Regions from separate parts of the Homo sapiens genome. Here all the other regions are linked to region 5. Evidence: promoter capture Hi-C in 16 types of primary human blood cells and fetal thymus (Javierre and others, 2016). All regions are on one chromosome and are shown on one strand. Each heading gives the region's core, a stretch centred on a gene start or on the middle of the fragment in contact. The rest is flanking DNA. Distances are from core to core; before and after follow the strand shown.

Region 1 (2,700 bases), core at 19-2,518, 7.3 Mb after region 5:
TGCTCCCGGGCCCGCGCTCTGGTTCCTGCTTCCCTCCCAGCCTTCTCTGAGGCCCGGACTCGCACTTTCCTCCAGCCAACTCCTCGTCCCAGGTTGCTCCTCTTCCCTTCTTGCTTTCCCCAGCCCAGGCTCCCGCCTCCCTCCTCAGCCTTCCTTACGGGTCACACCGTCACCCGCCTTCTCCGCGCCCGCGGGACCCACCAGCCTCACCTTCGGTTGCCGGCCGGGCGTCTGCGCATGCGCACTCCCACGCGGACGATGCCTCCCAGGTGTCTCCGCGGCGCGTTCCTGCTGTCCACCGGCTACGCGCGCCTTCTCCACATCCGGGCGTTTCCGGCCTTGGACTACATTTCCCACAGGCGCCCGGGCGGTTTTCGAACTTTGATCTCTGGTTCCCCTTCCAAATTCTCATAGTGCGTGGCTGGGATGAGGGCGGCGCTCACGGTGAGGAAGCCCCGAGCTCCCGGGACGCAGACAGGGTGTGCAGGGCCGTAGCTCGGGCCTGTGTATGCACCTGTGCGTGTGTGTTTGATGCCAGGACAAGGCGGCGGTGTGCGCGGCGAGGAGGCTGCGACAGGTGCGTGATTGTGTTCCTGTCCCTGCTCGGATGCGGGACCTTTGGGTGGCCGTGGTCGGCTGTCGGGTGTGTGACACTGTAGGGTTTGAGACCTTCCATCATGACAGTGCTGCTGTGGCCGTGTGATGGAAGAGCCTTTTAGGTCTGTGGTGTTGTGTGTGTAACGGGTAAAGCTTCATTTCTGCAGTGCTGTGTTTAATGTTGGGACTGAGGGGTCTGTCGAAGATCTCCCCAATGTGCCTGTGAGGACTATGATCCATGCCTATGTTAAGCAGAGTCATCTTGCAATGAAGCATGGCCCGCGTTGTCTTCTCAGGGCACACCTGTCCCCAGTTCTCAGCCTGGTGTTTGACACAGGGGATCCTGGCGGAGTGCCCACCTAAGCGGCAGTTTTAGACTCGATTGTTTCTTGGGCTCTGCATCTCTGAGTTCCCAGCTTCCTTTTTTCTCCCGCTTTATAGCTGTATAGACCCCAGCTGCAGTGAAATGGCCATCAAAAAGGGAAGGGATAATCGAGTGGTGGAATAAAATCTGCAAACAGAAAAAGGACAGACCTGTTTTCGGAACGAGGCTTTTCGAGTTGTAAGTGTCCCTTAAGCAGAGTTCTGGGAAGACGTCGTGGGGAGAACCTAGGAGTAGGATTCCTTCCTCAGAGGCTCTCCCTTGGGAACTCTCAGAGGTCAGGTTCCATGTGATCCACATCATTCCCAGAGCTGTCTCCGCAGGAGACTTAACGTGAATTTTGAGAAAGTCCCCAGTCCTGGATATCAGTGACCCTGGCCTTTCCCTTGAATACTAAGAAGGGTTAGCAGTACTCCCATCTCCCTTTTACTTCCATCTGAGTATGTTTATGGTAGATGATGAGAGCTCGTGTGGTGGCAATAATTTTTTCCAATTTAGCCAATCTGGGTTCCAAGAAAGGTCTGATGTCTCATGATTCCTTACCCCTTCTCCCTTGCCTTGAGGTTCTCTAAGAGCCCTGAGGAAAGGGAACCATTGCTGAGCATATCTGAAAACCAAGGTCAAGGAAGTTTTGTTGTATTTTCTATTTTTGTTCTCTTTGATTTTGTTTTTCAGCAAGGGAGTATTTTTTCTCCTCCTGAAATGCTAGTCAGTGGTTAGGTTACTATTAGGCAGGGCCTTGTGAGGTGCTTTGACCAATAGAATGTGGTGGAAGTGATATTGTGAGACTTCTGAGACAAAGCTTCAGGAAGTCTTGCAGCTTTTTCTCTTCCCCTTTTCCTGCCCTGAGACCACCATGACTGAAGGCTAAGAGCAACTTGCTTGCGCATTAAAGATCACTTGGAGAGAGAGGTCCAGTGAGCAACAACGGCCAGAAATTTCAGGGAGACCATCTTGAACCATCCAGCCTCCACCAGGCCAACAGCTGACAGCTGTCACATGAATATGATCAGCAGAAGAACCACTCAGGCAAGCCAAGCCCAAATTGCCAAGCCCCCCAAATAATAAGCTAATTGTTTTTTGTTTTAAGCCATAAACTTTTGAGGTGGTTATATAGCAATAAATAACTGAAACAGGTGTTTAACTTTCTAGACTTTTTAAATGACCATATTGATATAATTGTATTGTTCAACCTGTTTTGTAAAGTGATTTCTCTGATACAGTATCTTGAAAATATTCCTTAACTATTTTCTACAACTTTGCATTTGTCTATCTTAGTATTATATTACATGGATATGTGGTAACTTATTTAACTACTAACTTCCCTTTGCAATTCCTTTTCCTTGCTGTCTAGCTCCCATGTCTTGACCAACTTTGCATTCCCCTCCAGGACCTTATGGGCACATGGGTTCCTATCATTTCACGGGTATGTAGACTCAGGAATGTGGCATTGACTTCTGGGTGGAGTACAGATGACTGACACCCCCACCCCGATTCGGAGGAATTATTCAGGGGTGTGATATAACACCTACATACATTTATTTAACTAGCCAATTTGGTCTCCCCTTTTTTTGTTTTGAGACCGAGTCTTGCTCTGTCGCCCAGGCTGGAGTGCAGTGGCGTGATCTCGACTTACTGCAACCTCCGCCTCCCAGGTTCAAGGGATTCTCCTGCCTCAGCCTTCCGAGTAGCTGAGACTACAGGTGCCCACCACCATGTCC
Region 2 (2,700 bases), core at 198-2,697, 7.1 Mb before region 5:
AAACCTAGCCCAGGGGCAGCCTGGCACAAGGAGACCTCAGGAAATAAATTCAACAAATGAACCAACGCACACAGATGAACAGAACTGGCCCATGATAAGGCTTAAGAGTGACCTCACGGAGCTCATTTAATATGAAAGGAAGGCATCATGGTTTCCTGTTATGGGGGAAAAAAATGGGCTACAGGGTGCATGGGGTTCCTTCTCACGTCATCACCGGCCGTAGACCTACACATCCTGGGGCTCTCTGCACATCTCCACATCTCAGTCTAAGGCTCTGGTGGTCCCTTAATCTAGAGGATTTTTTTTTTTTTTTTGAGACAGAGTCTCACTCTGTGGCCAGGCTGGAGTGCAGTGGCGCGATCTCGGCTCACTGCAACCTCTGCCTTCTGGGTTCAAGCCATTCTCCTGCCTCAGCCTCCCGAGTAGCTGGGACTACAGGCGCGCACCACTACGCCCAGCTAATTTTTGTATTTTTAGTAGAGATGAGGTTTCACCATGTTGGCCAGGATGGTCTCCATCTTTTGACCTCGTGATCCACCCGCCTCGGCCTCCCAAAGTGCTGGGATTACAGGTGTAAGCCACCGCGCCGTCTAGAGGAATTTTGAGCCTCAGTTTTTTCGAGGACCTAGGTTTGGGGACCTGGATCTCAAGGGTCTCAGATATCTGAGTCCTTAAACTCCTTGTGCCCCGGTATTTGAGTCACCGGGGTCTTCAAGACCCTTGGGCCTTGTGGGGAGGGTGGAGGCCTCCAGATCCCTGTGTCTAGGGTGCAGACGGTTGTCTCCAGGTCTACTGGTTCTCTCAGGTGCTTTGGTGCCAGGGGTCTGCGTTTTTAACCCCCTTAGTCTCAAGGGTCTGAGTCTCTGAGCCTCTGGGCTCCTGGGTTAGGTGAGAAGGGTCTTTGGATCCTTCTGTTTAGAGTCTGGGTCTCCAGCACGCGCATCACGACAGCCCCCGCGTGCGCGCGGAGTTCCACTCCAATCCTCGAAGTCTGCTCTACGCATGCGCTATCTGCGCCTTTTACACTAGCGACCAACCCCTGCAGTTCCACCTTCAATTCCCACCCGCAACCCCGCCTCAAAGGGCAGAAATCATAGGCCCTGTAATCCCCTTAAAATCCTATAATAATCCCACAAAATCAGTTAATCAGAATACAACTACTTCGCCCATCCAGCAACCTGCCGGGTGACAGCGCGCTGCCATGACAACAGTACACGCAGCTCCGCCGCTCCCTGCGGCCGCGCGCAGGCGCAGAAAGTAAACGCGGGGGGAGGGGGAGCAGTGTATTTTGGGAGCGGCAGAAAGAGCAATGCAAGTGTTTCTGGGAGTTGTAGGCCAAGCGGGACCCCGGAGCCGTAGGCGCATCCAGCGGAAGTGTCGCATGGGCTTCTGGGAGTTCTAGGCAAGAAAGCCCCAAGACCTTATGGGAGTGGTAGTCTCGGAGTCACTTCCGGGCCAGGCTTCCGCGTGGTGGGCAGTGTGGGCATCCCAGCACTGAGTTCTGCCCGGGTGAGTATTTCCTCCTGCGGTGGGTCGGCATGTGGACTCCGGCTCTTTGTTGCGGTGCCGTGGGAGGGTTGAGGGTCTCTTCGAGCGTAAGGCCTCTGTGATTTCCCAGCGCCCGTGTCCCTGAGGCCTTGTAGCCAGGATTCCCACTTTGAACGCTGCGGTCCGGCCTGTCTCTTACCGGGCCACTCCCTTCCCCAAGACAGGATAAGACCATCTGCTTGCCCCCGCCCCTATGTTACTATCTGCCTGTCCCCGCCCCCATGCCACACATTATCTGTCCTTTTGACAAGGCTGCAATCCAGAGGCATCCCTGGGGTCCGCGGCCTCTCTTCTGGGAGCACTTATTATTCCCTCATCCTACAGATACTTACTGAGCACCGACTCTGCGCAGGGCGGCGGGAGCGAGGGCACCAGACCAACCCTGTCCCTGCCTTGAAGCAGAGAGACAGACCTGTCACCAGTGACAGCTAGTCAGGATCAGGGCAGCTCTGAGGGCCCTGGTGGAGGCGCTCGACTCAGTGACGAGGGTCCATAAAGTCTTTGAGGGAAGACGCTTAACATGCATGTCAAACCTGACGTGGCCAAATGGAATTCCTGGTCTTCTCACCTCACAAAATGGCCCCACCGTCCCTCCAATGCTCAGGCCAGAACCTCAAAGTTACCCTTCATCACTTTCTCTCGTCGTTGCCCCAGTCCCCACTCCAATCAGTCTTATACAAGTCCTGTGGGCTCCACCTTCAAAATAGATCCAAAATTTCACTTCTTCCCACCTCTACTGCCAGCACTCCTGTCTAGTGTGCTGACCTCCAGCCTTCTGTCCTTGTCCCTGACAACCAACAGTCCTCCCCACACAGCAGCCAAACGAATCCCACTTTTTTTATTTGAGACAAGGTCTCACTCTATCACCCACGCTGGAGTGCACTGGTGCGATCATGGCTCACTGCAGCCTTGACCTCCTGGGCTCAAGTGATCCTCCTGCCTTGGCTTCCTGAGTAGCTGGTACTACAGGCCTGTGCCACCAGGTGCAGCTAATTTATTTATTTATTTTTTTAGAGATGGGGTCTCGCTATGTTGACCAGTCTAGGAATCCTTTTAAAACATGCCAGATCATACCACTTTACTGTTCAAAAACCTCCCAAGGCTCCCATCTCCTCCTGAATAAACCTAAAATTCCACATCATGGCCTATGAG
Region 3 (2,700 bases), core at 89-2,588, 7.2 Mb after region 5:
ACAAATGTCCATCAAGAGTAGAAGGATAAGGCCGGGCACAGCAGCTCACGCCTGTAATTCTGTCTCAAAAAAAAAAAAAAAAAAAGAAAGAAAGAAAAAAAAAAGAAAAAGAAAAATTAAAACCATCTGACAAATCAGTAAGGGAAAATCAGGTGTGGGAGGTGGGGTTTGAAGACACCACATTTTCTCAAAATGGAAACTCCAGGGATCAGGTCATCTCATAGGCAAGAATTTTCAAGAGAAGGAAAGCAACTATGTCCTGACAAAGAAAAAGGGATTTTTCTTAAACAAGAGGACAGGACAAGCTACCTTGCAGGTGCCTTGTGGATGTTCAACAGCCATTCTTTACTCCTGTTCGGAGGCCTCTATCCAAGCAGGGCAGGGCTGAGGAAGGAGAAAGCAGTCAGGAAACATCAGGTTCTTCTGAGAGGGAGTTGGTTTGACTATGTCAGAAGTTATCTTTGCTCAGCCCCTACTGCCCATCACCTACAGAGGAAGGTCAGAGAAGTCTAGGGCATCCTGCTTAATCCGGGCATCACAGACAACGGTAGGGTCAATGCCGTTCTGGGCAGAACCTGTCCCTGAGCTCACAGGGGTCTCCAATGGCTGAAGTCACAAAGACAAAGACTCCCCATACCTACATTGGCTATACGGACACATAGTCACACAAACTCACTCACACCGCAGGGACATAAACGTCACAGGCACCCCAAACCTAAACACAACACACAATCACACACTCATACACACCACGGGGGTAGACACGGACACAACCACAGAGTCCGTGGGCATCTCTCAAATTCCCAGTGACATACACCTTGGGGTCACAATGACAACAAATTCACACGCACCCTCCATCAACAATATCACCAACGCGCGCGCACACACACACACGGAAGCAGCCACAAACCTCAAAATTAAGGCATACTACACACAGTTCGGCAAATGGTAGTAAACACACACACACACACCCCAAGGGGACATACAGTCACAACCGCGGTCCAGGAACCTCACACTCGCAAACACAGTGCCCAACCCGGTCACAATTAAACTCTACTCACACCCGCACAAACATAAACAAAAAGTCCTCCTCCCCGCCCTCACAGTTCCATACACGGTCGCACAGACACACGCCCCCAGTCACAACCGTACACACTCCTCACAATCGCTCCTTAGCCTGTTCCCCACGCAGCCCACACAGGTCGGGAGTTCCTGTCGCGCCAGGCTCCGAGCCGCCTCACTTACGCCTGTTCGGATAGGGTCAGCTCCGTTCTACTAGAATCCACACAAGTCGACCCTAGCTATCTCACAAAGCCCCAAGGCCGCTTGCCCAAATCCGCGGGAAGATCCCGCCCACTCCTCAAGAGACAATCTAGTTATCGCGGGAGAGTGCCCTGGGCCTAGAGGCTTCTGGGAAGTGTAGTCCAGAAAGCGACAGGTTGCCGAAAGCTACAGCCCAGCCATCCCGATTCCCCTGGCGCGGACTCTGGCACCAACAAAACTATCTCTTTGAGGTGAGCTGCCCATCGGAGCCTTCCGGGAGTCTCACCTGACAAGGAGTCCCTAGACCAAGCTTTAGTCAGGCTCCTCTGAGCCCTTTTTGCTTGGCCAGGCCTCCTCCATAGCCTGCGAACAGCACTTCAGCAAGAATCCAGCTAAGCCAGTTTAGTAACAATCCCCCCACTCTTGATACTTAACTTCCTCTTAGTAATTTAGCATCCTTTAACTCCTTCACCCAGCCCGTTAGCTATAAATCTCCAGCTGCTGTTGTATTGGAAGTTGACTATTGCAATAGTCTTTAACCAAGTCCTTCTTGCCTGTTTAAGTCCTCTGGGGCAAGCTTTCTTTCACCCCGCCCAGCCTCAGAGGGCGGCTCCCGGGCTTCCGCCCCTCCTCGGGAGACATACTGGACCGCAGGGTCTCCTGGGAAACGTAGTCCAAGCCTCGCCGGGGATAGATGGGCCCAACTAAAGTGTGCTGCGTTCTCTGGGTCCTGAGGCGGCAGTCTGGCCGCAGTGACCAGACTAACTGTGCCCCGGAGGCTGCTTGGAATTCCACTTAACGCTGGAAGCACGCAGACGCTCTTGAGGCGGGCAGCTGCGTAGCGTGTGGAGGAGCCGGGAGAGCGCACCCCAATGTGGCACCTGAGCGTCTGGGACCGAACCAGCATGGGGAGTCGGAAGGGGACAAATCCGCGATCCCAGTCATGCATGTGAGACTGGGCAAAGGAAGGCTCGAGTGTGTGTGAGACCGCGGTGGGCCTGCTTGTGCTGGTGGGATGAGGGGTGTCTGGGTAGTTGAGTGAAAGAAACCGCGTGCGGGTCAGATTGGTGTGTGTGTGAGAGAAGTGAGGTCAAGATGTGTGCAGCTTTGGGCGTGGGGAGGTCATATTGAGTGTGTGGAGGTGGGGGGGGCAAGATCGTGTATGGATCTGTGTATGAGTGTGTGTAATCACCTGAATGTGGGTCACTGCGTGGGTAGCTGATACTATGACTGTGGAGGAATCTGAACCTCCAAGTCTCATTTTCTCTTTAAATTGTGATAACAAGGTTGTATCTTCCTGGTGCAGCAGTTTTAAAGGGGGGAAGCTCCATTACTGATATAATAAAATAGCATTTTTTATGTAAACATTTAACATTCAGACATTTCTTCTGAACTAGAGTACAAAATCAGTTATGAGTACTCCAAGTAGTTTAAAAA
Region 4 (2,700 bases), core at 69-2,568, 6.5 Mb after region 5:
GGCCAAGGTGGGCAGATCACGAGGTCAGGAGTTCGAGACCAGCCTGACCAACATGGTGAAACCCCGTCTCTACTAAAAATACAAAAAAATTAGCCGGGCGTGGTGGCACGCGCCTTAAGTCCCAGCTACTCAGGAGGCTGAGGCAGAAAAATTGCCTGAACCTGGGAGGCGAAAGGAGGCGGAGGTTGCAGTGAGCCGAGATCGCGCCACTGCACTCCAGCCTGAGCGACAGAGCAAGACTCCGTCTTAAAAAACAAACAAACAAAAACCTCGTGACCTCAAATGATCCGTGCGCTTTGCCCACCCAAAGTGCTGGGATCACAGGCGTGAGCCACCGCGTCCGGCCTATTATCTCTTTATTAAAGGTATTAAGACCGGCCCCGTGCGGCTCATGCCTGTAATCCTAGCACTTTTTGAGGCCCAGGCGGGAGGATCGCTTGAGCTCAGGAGTTCGAGAGCAGCCTGGGCAACATAGCGAGACCTTATCTCTACTAACAAACAAACAAAAATCAGCCGGGCGGAGTGTCCCTTGATTGTGGTCCCAGTTACTCGGAAGGCCGAGGCAGAGAATCGCTTGAGCCCGGGAGTTCGAGGCTGCAGTGAGCCAACATCGCGCCGCTGCACTCTCCAGCCTGGGCAACAAAGTGAGGCTCTGCCTCAAAAAAAACAAAACAAACAAAAAAAAAAAAACACGAAAGGCATAGAGAAGTTAAGTACCTAGTCTGAGATGACACAGCTAGTAAGGCCAAGTCTGTTTAGAAGTCAGGCGGTCTGGCCACACTACTTTTCGCTCACGATCCCGGGTCATGAAATCCAATAACACTGTCACACTCACAATCGAGAAGTCCAGAAAGAACAAATACATGCACATTGTCTCTGACAAAACTGCAAGGTCAGAATCAAACAGCCACGAGAATATAAAACGCGACCATGGTCACACAAAAGGTCGCATATTCGCACGACCTCAGATGTCACTGGACAGGGTCTCTCGCCCTGGAAACCCCACTCCAAATTCCATGGCCGAAGTTTCACACATACAGTCACACTACGTCACTCCTCCCTCTTCTAGCCGCTGTCAGGACCTTAAGGCTCCAGCTGACCCGGCCTTCACTGGCCCTGGAGCTCTCACCACCTTCACCCCGCTGTATTCTAGCCTCAGGTAGAGACCCAAAAAGACGGAACTAAACACACTGAGCCGGGCTTCCTTCACGGACCTTGCGAACCTGCAGCTCCAGCCGACTGTAAGAAGGAAGTGCCTTTTTGCAGGTGGGGTCGGGGAAGTAGGGCCGCGAAGGCCTCTGGGAAATGTAGTTCGGCGCAGGAAGCAGCGGAACGATTCGATTCTTCTCAGCACCAAGTTGCGCTCCCAATCTCTCAGAGCTGGGCTCGCGGGAGGCCGCTCGTGCAAAACCTAGGCTGAGCTCCCCTGCGCGGAGCTGTGAGCCCTGGAACACCGTGGTCTGCTTCTCAGGACGCGCAAACAGTGAAGCCAGTCCCGCCCGGGTGAGCCGCGGGGGCCTCTGGGAAGCGTCGCCCCTGGTGTAACGGACCGAGACTTGTGGCGCTCTCAGCCACCGACAGCGCCGGCCTCAGTGCCGCCTCTGTCCCAGCCCGCGCCGGCTCTGCCACTTTGGCAGCGTTAAGTGTGGAATCGGGGCCTGTGTCCGCGGGCTTGGTGGTGAGTCCTCGGGAAACCGCTAGCTCTGAGCGCCGGACTCTTTGTGCTGGGTGGGAGTGGGGGCCCGCGGTCCTGGTGCCCCAATCTTTGGAGGAGGACGCCGGGCGGGGCGATGCCTGTGCTTGTGGTTCCCTGAGGCAGTGGGAGTGGCGTGTGAAGGACTGTGAGAGTCTGGCGTGAAGTGACTGTCATTTGCCAGACATTCGTCTGGCTGAGTGTGGCCCCGGGATCGTGTCCGTAAGCGGATTTCGTGGAGGCGCTTTCCCTTTTATCTTTCAGTATGAACCTGCGTGCAAACGTGCATGACAGTGGGATCTTGAATGAATGAAAAACTGTGGATACAAGGTAGGGTGTGCTTGTGGGTGTAGATGTGTGAGACTTGGCGTTTGTGCCAGCGCTGCATGTCTTTAGCTTTGGTCATTGGAAATACGTTGTTTTTTTGTTTTTGTTTTTGAGATGGAGTTTCGCTCTCGTTGCCCAGGCTGCTGGAGGGCAATGGCGCGATCTTGGCTCACCGCAACCTCCGCCTCCTGGGAAGAAGCAATTCTCCTCCCTCAGCCTCCCGAGTAGCTGGGATTACAGGCGCACCACCACGCCTGGCTAATTTTGTATTTTTAGTAGAGACGGGGTTTCTCCATGTGGGTCAGGCTGGTCTCGAACAACTGACCGCAGGTGATCCACCCGCCTCGTTCTCCCAAAGTGCTGAGATTACAGTCGTAAGCCACCGCGCCCGGCCGGAAATATGTTTTTATATGAAACATCGATATCCCCAACACTTTAATATTTATTTATTTTTAATTTTATTTTCGTGTATTAGCTACGTTGTTTTGTGTACTTACTAAACTCATTCTCCTCCTTCCCTACTCCACCCCATTTGGGGAGTGGAGTGGGGTGGAGAAAAATACAGAAAAGCTCGAAGAACAAAAATCATTCATAGTTCTACAGGCCATGCAACTACTGTCAAAATTTACTTTCCATCTTTTCACCCCCGCCTTTGTGTATACATACGTATACATTCATAT
Region 5 (2,700 bases), core at 85-2,584:
GTTACTACCTTTACATCTTGGATACATGGGTAATTAAAAAACTTTTTCTACTCTCATTTCTCCTATTTCAGACTTTTCCACAATGATACAGTTCCACAACAGTACGAAATACTTGGAAAACATGAAACAAAATAGTTGAGAAATTTTTAAAAATTCCTAGACGTCCAAGCCCACGAGCCTTGCTCTCAACGTCCTTTCAATCAGGTCCTAACTTGCTTTCCCTACGAGTCCAGCTAGTTCCTCTGCCTCAATGAGAATGTATCCAAGAGGTGATCAACTCAGGCTCTGACCTGGACTGCCTAGGTGCCAACCCCAGCTCTACCTCTCACTAGTTGGCTGCTATGCACCCTGTGTCTCACTCTCATTTTTAAAACAAAGAAAAGCAATACTTCACAGAGCCACAGTGTGGCCTAAATTTATTTGTATAAAGCACTTAGAATGAAGTTACCAATTACGGCTTAATGATTATCAACACCCATTCCCGAGGACACACTCTCGGTTGGGTGAACATCTCTATAAAGGAAAAAAGCCAAGGACCAATCACATAGAGATTTGCCCTCAGTAGCCAAGAAGTCCCCTCCCTGCAGCTCTTTTAGAAAGGTCAGGCTGGGGAAGGCGAAAGTTGTGAAATACCCTGACTGCATCGCGGTCCCCCATAAAAGTTAAATGCTCCCCGCCCTTCGTGGAAGCGGACGCAACTCGCTTTCCTAAAAAGAGGTCAGAAGGCCTCCCGGGATCATCCAGCGTCCTGCAGGGATTAGGGAGAAGGACCAGGGCCCCTGCAGCTGAAGCTATGACTCCACCCGGGGACCTGACCTCTTCGGGAAGTTAACAAGAGACCACCAGTCACCAAGTGACAGGGACTGCTTTAAGGTTCTCATTTGCGTTATCTCTTTCAGTTCCCAAAAACGATTCTACTAGGATGGTTCTAATGTCCCCATTACCAAAAACAGCAATGGAAAGTATAAGGACATTGAGTAACACTCCACGTCACACTGCGAGAAAGCGGTCGCACAGGTAGGGTGGAGAGAGGCAGGCTGAGCGAGGTCAAAGTCCTGGAAACGCTCACAGCAGGGCACAGAGGACCCCGCCAATTCCAACCCCCGGGATGCGAGCACAGCACCCCCATCCCAGAAAGCTTCCGTGGACGGGAAAAAAACCCCATTCCCCGCCCCCACCAAACCTCCGCTCTCCGCCAAGGCTTCTTTTCCCTTGCTTGGATCATCGATCATCGGGTCGTTGCGACCCCAAGCGAAGGTGACAAGTTCAGAAGGACCCGCCAGACGCAGAAATGGCTCAAACTACGCGGTTATGTAGCAACCGCAGGCTCACACACCGGAAGTGCTCGCGTCTCCACAGAGCGTCTGGACTCCACTTCCCAGAATTCCCCGGTTCAACTGCTTGAGCCAAAGGGTCCGCCATTCCATGAAGTTGATGGACTACAGTTCCCAGAATTCACTCGTCCACCCGCCTGAGCCAACTTGCCCGCGACTCAGAGTGTGTCTGGACTCCGCTTCCTCCAATGCCAAAGGAAAATGTCTATAATCTCACTCTTCAGCGGGAAGCGTTGGACTCCGCGGTGGTCCTTGACTACACACACCGCAGTGCCCACCGGGAACGTATTCCATATCTCTGAGCGCCTGGTGGGGAATGTGGACTGTGACCCTGTGAGTCGTCCGTCTCTCTTCCTGAGTCTTTGAGCGAAAATAGTGTATAGACAGGAATTCCTGAAGTCTAAACGCCTCCCACGATGACAGGAGTGTTATTGGGAAGAGAACAAACGAGGAGATAAAATCTTCAAGGATTAGGATAATCTGACGATGGGAGGTTAAAACTAACGGTTTAAAGGATGAGCCAGGTGGAATGGTTTGGCAGGGGCAATGAGGAGCAGGAAGACACCAGCCCCTACTCCAGAAGCTGTGGGACCACTGGTTTGGCAGGAAAAGCCACCCCCATTTAAGATCACAGCTACTAGTGGAGAAGCGGTGTCGTCATGGAATAGCTATCTTCCCATAAACTTTTCATGGTATTCATATTTCTCCTTAGATGTAGAAACATCAAATTTCAGCGAATGTAGTGAATTGCTCAGTACCTCAGAGCAATAATGACTGATGAAGAGCTAGGCATTGGTATCAATCTTACATTGAGATTGTAAATGCAGTAAAACGGGAGGATTCTATAGGTGAAGGAGCATGTCTTATAAAGAGTTTTCTTCCTGGCCAAGCGCAGTGGCTCAAACCTGTAATGCCAACCCTTTGGGAGGCCAGGGCAGGACGTTCCCTTGAGCTCAGGAATTGGAGACCAGACAGGGAAATACAGGGAGACTTCGTCTCTATAAAAATTTTTTTTTAACTGGCCAGGCATGGTGGCCTGATCTTGGGACTACAAGTTCCAAGTACTCAGGAGGCTGAGGTGGGAGGATTGCTGAAGCCCAGGAGTTTGATTGAGGCTGCAGTGAGCTATGATGCCACCACTGCCCTCCAGCCTAGGCAACAGATACCTCAATAATTAAAGATTTTTTTTTTTAAGTTTCTTCTTATTTCTTGGTGAAACATAATTTCTTTATTATAGTTAGCAATTTAAAAACTGGCATTGGTTAAAAAATAATAACAGTATAAAGCTAAATTAGGAAACAATTCATCTAAAAACCTGCTCTTTTGAAGGTAACTTTTTTTCTCCCTATAAACATACATTGGCCTA

Evidence for each region. The method cuts DNA at HindIII sites, captures the fragments that hold promoters and counts their contacts. A CHiCAGO score of 5 or more calls a contact.
Region 1: a fragment that was not itself captured here is called in contact with the fragment with the promoter of ZNF230 in region 5 in 7 of 17 cell types (total CD8 T cells, naive CD4 T cells, activated CD4 T cells and 4 more); the score reaches 12.6 in total CD8 T cells.
Region 2: a contact is called between the fragment with the promoter of CTU1 here and the fragment with the promoter of ZNF230 in region 5, in 1 of 17 cell types (total B cells). The highest score is 5.9, in total B cells.
Region 3: a contact is called between the fragment with the promoter of ZNF345 here and the fragment with the promoter of ZNF230 in region 5, in 8 of 17 cell types (non-activated CD4 T cells, monocytes, total CD8 T cells and 5 more). The highest score is 23.9, in non-activated CD4 T cells.
Region 4: a contact is called between the fragment with the promoter of ZNF569 here and the fragment with the promoter of ZNF230 in region 5, in 1 of 17 cell types (activated CD4 T cells). The highest score is 6.2, in activated CD4 T cells.

What each region holds. Positions count from the first base shown.
Region 1 is chr19:36,685,145-36,687,844 of GRCh38, reverse strand. ZNF567 (zinc finger protein 567) reads right to left here and starts at 233. Exons shown (of 6, transcript NM_001322917.1): 1 at 211-233. ZNF567-DT (ZNF567 divergent transcript) reads left to right here and starts at 396. Exons shown (of 4, transcript NR_110708.1): 1 at 396-577; 2 at 1,039-1,159; 3 at 1,830-2,008; 4 at 2,334-2,406. RefSeq lists a silencer at 117-176 and an enhancer at 377-426. The HindIII fragment of the contact is 1,031 bases long and covers 753-1,783 here.
Region 2 is chr19:51,107,156-51,109,855 of GRCh38, reverse strand. CTU1 (cytosolic thiouridylase subunit 1) reads left to right here and starts at 1,447. Exons shown (of 3, transcript NM_145232.4): 1 at 1,447-1,509. RefSeq lists an enhancer at 1,152-1,481. The HindIII fragment of the contact is 4,633 bases long and covers 1-2,700 here.
Region 3 is chr19:36,849,514-36,852,213 of GRCh38, reverse strand. ZNF345 (zinc finger protein 345) reads right to left here and starts at 1,338. Exons shown (of 3, transcript NM_001242472.2): 1 at 1,246-1,338; 2 at 310-384. It also overlaps a transcript of ZNF790 not described here. RefSeq lists an enhancer at 1,576-1,815. The HindIII fragment of the contact is 2,588 bases long and covers 1-1,575 here.
Region 4 is chr19:37,466,062-37,468,761 of GRCh38, reverse strand. It overlaps ZNF569 (zinc finger protein 569), which reads left to right and starts at 1,318. Exons shown (of 6, transcript NM_152484.3): 1 at 1,318-1,678. It also overlaps a transcript of ZNF570 not described here. RefSeq lists an enhancer at 1,448-1,497. The HindIII fragment of the contact is 12,295 bases long and covers 1-2,700 here.
Region 5 is chr19:44,001,591-44,004,290 of GRCh38, reverse strand. ZNF230 (zinc finger protein 230) reads right to left here and starts at 1,334. Exons shown (of 5, transcript NM_006300.4): 1 at 1,184-1,334. It overlaps ZNF230-DT (ZNF230 divergent transcript), which reads left to right and starts at 1,421. Exons shown (of 3, transcript NR_110727.1): 1 at 1,421-2,026. RefSeq lists an enhancer at 1,062-1,571. The HindIII fragment of the contact is 6,099 bases long and covers 1,141-2,700 here.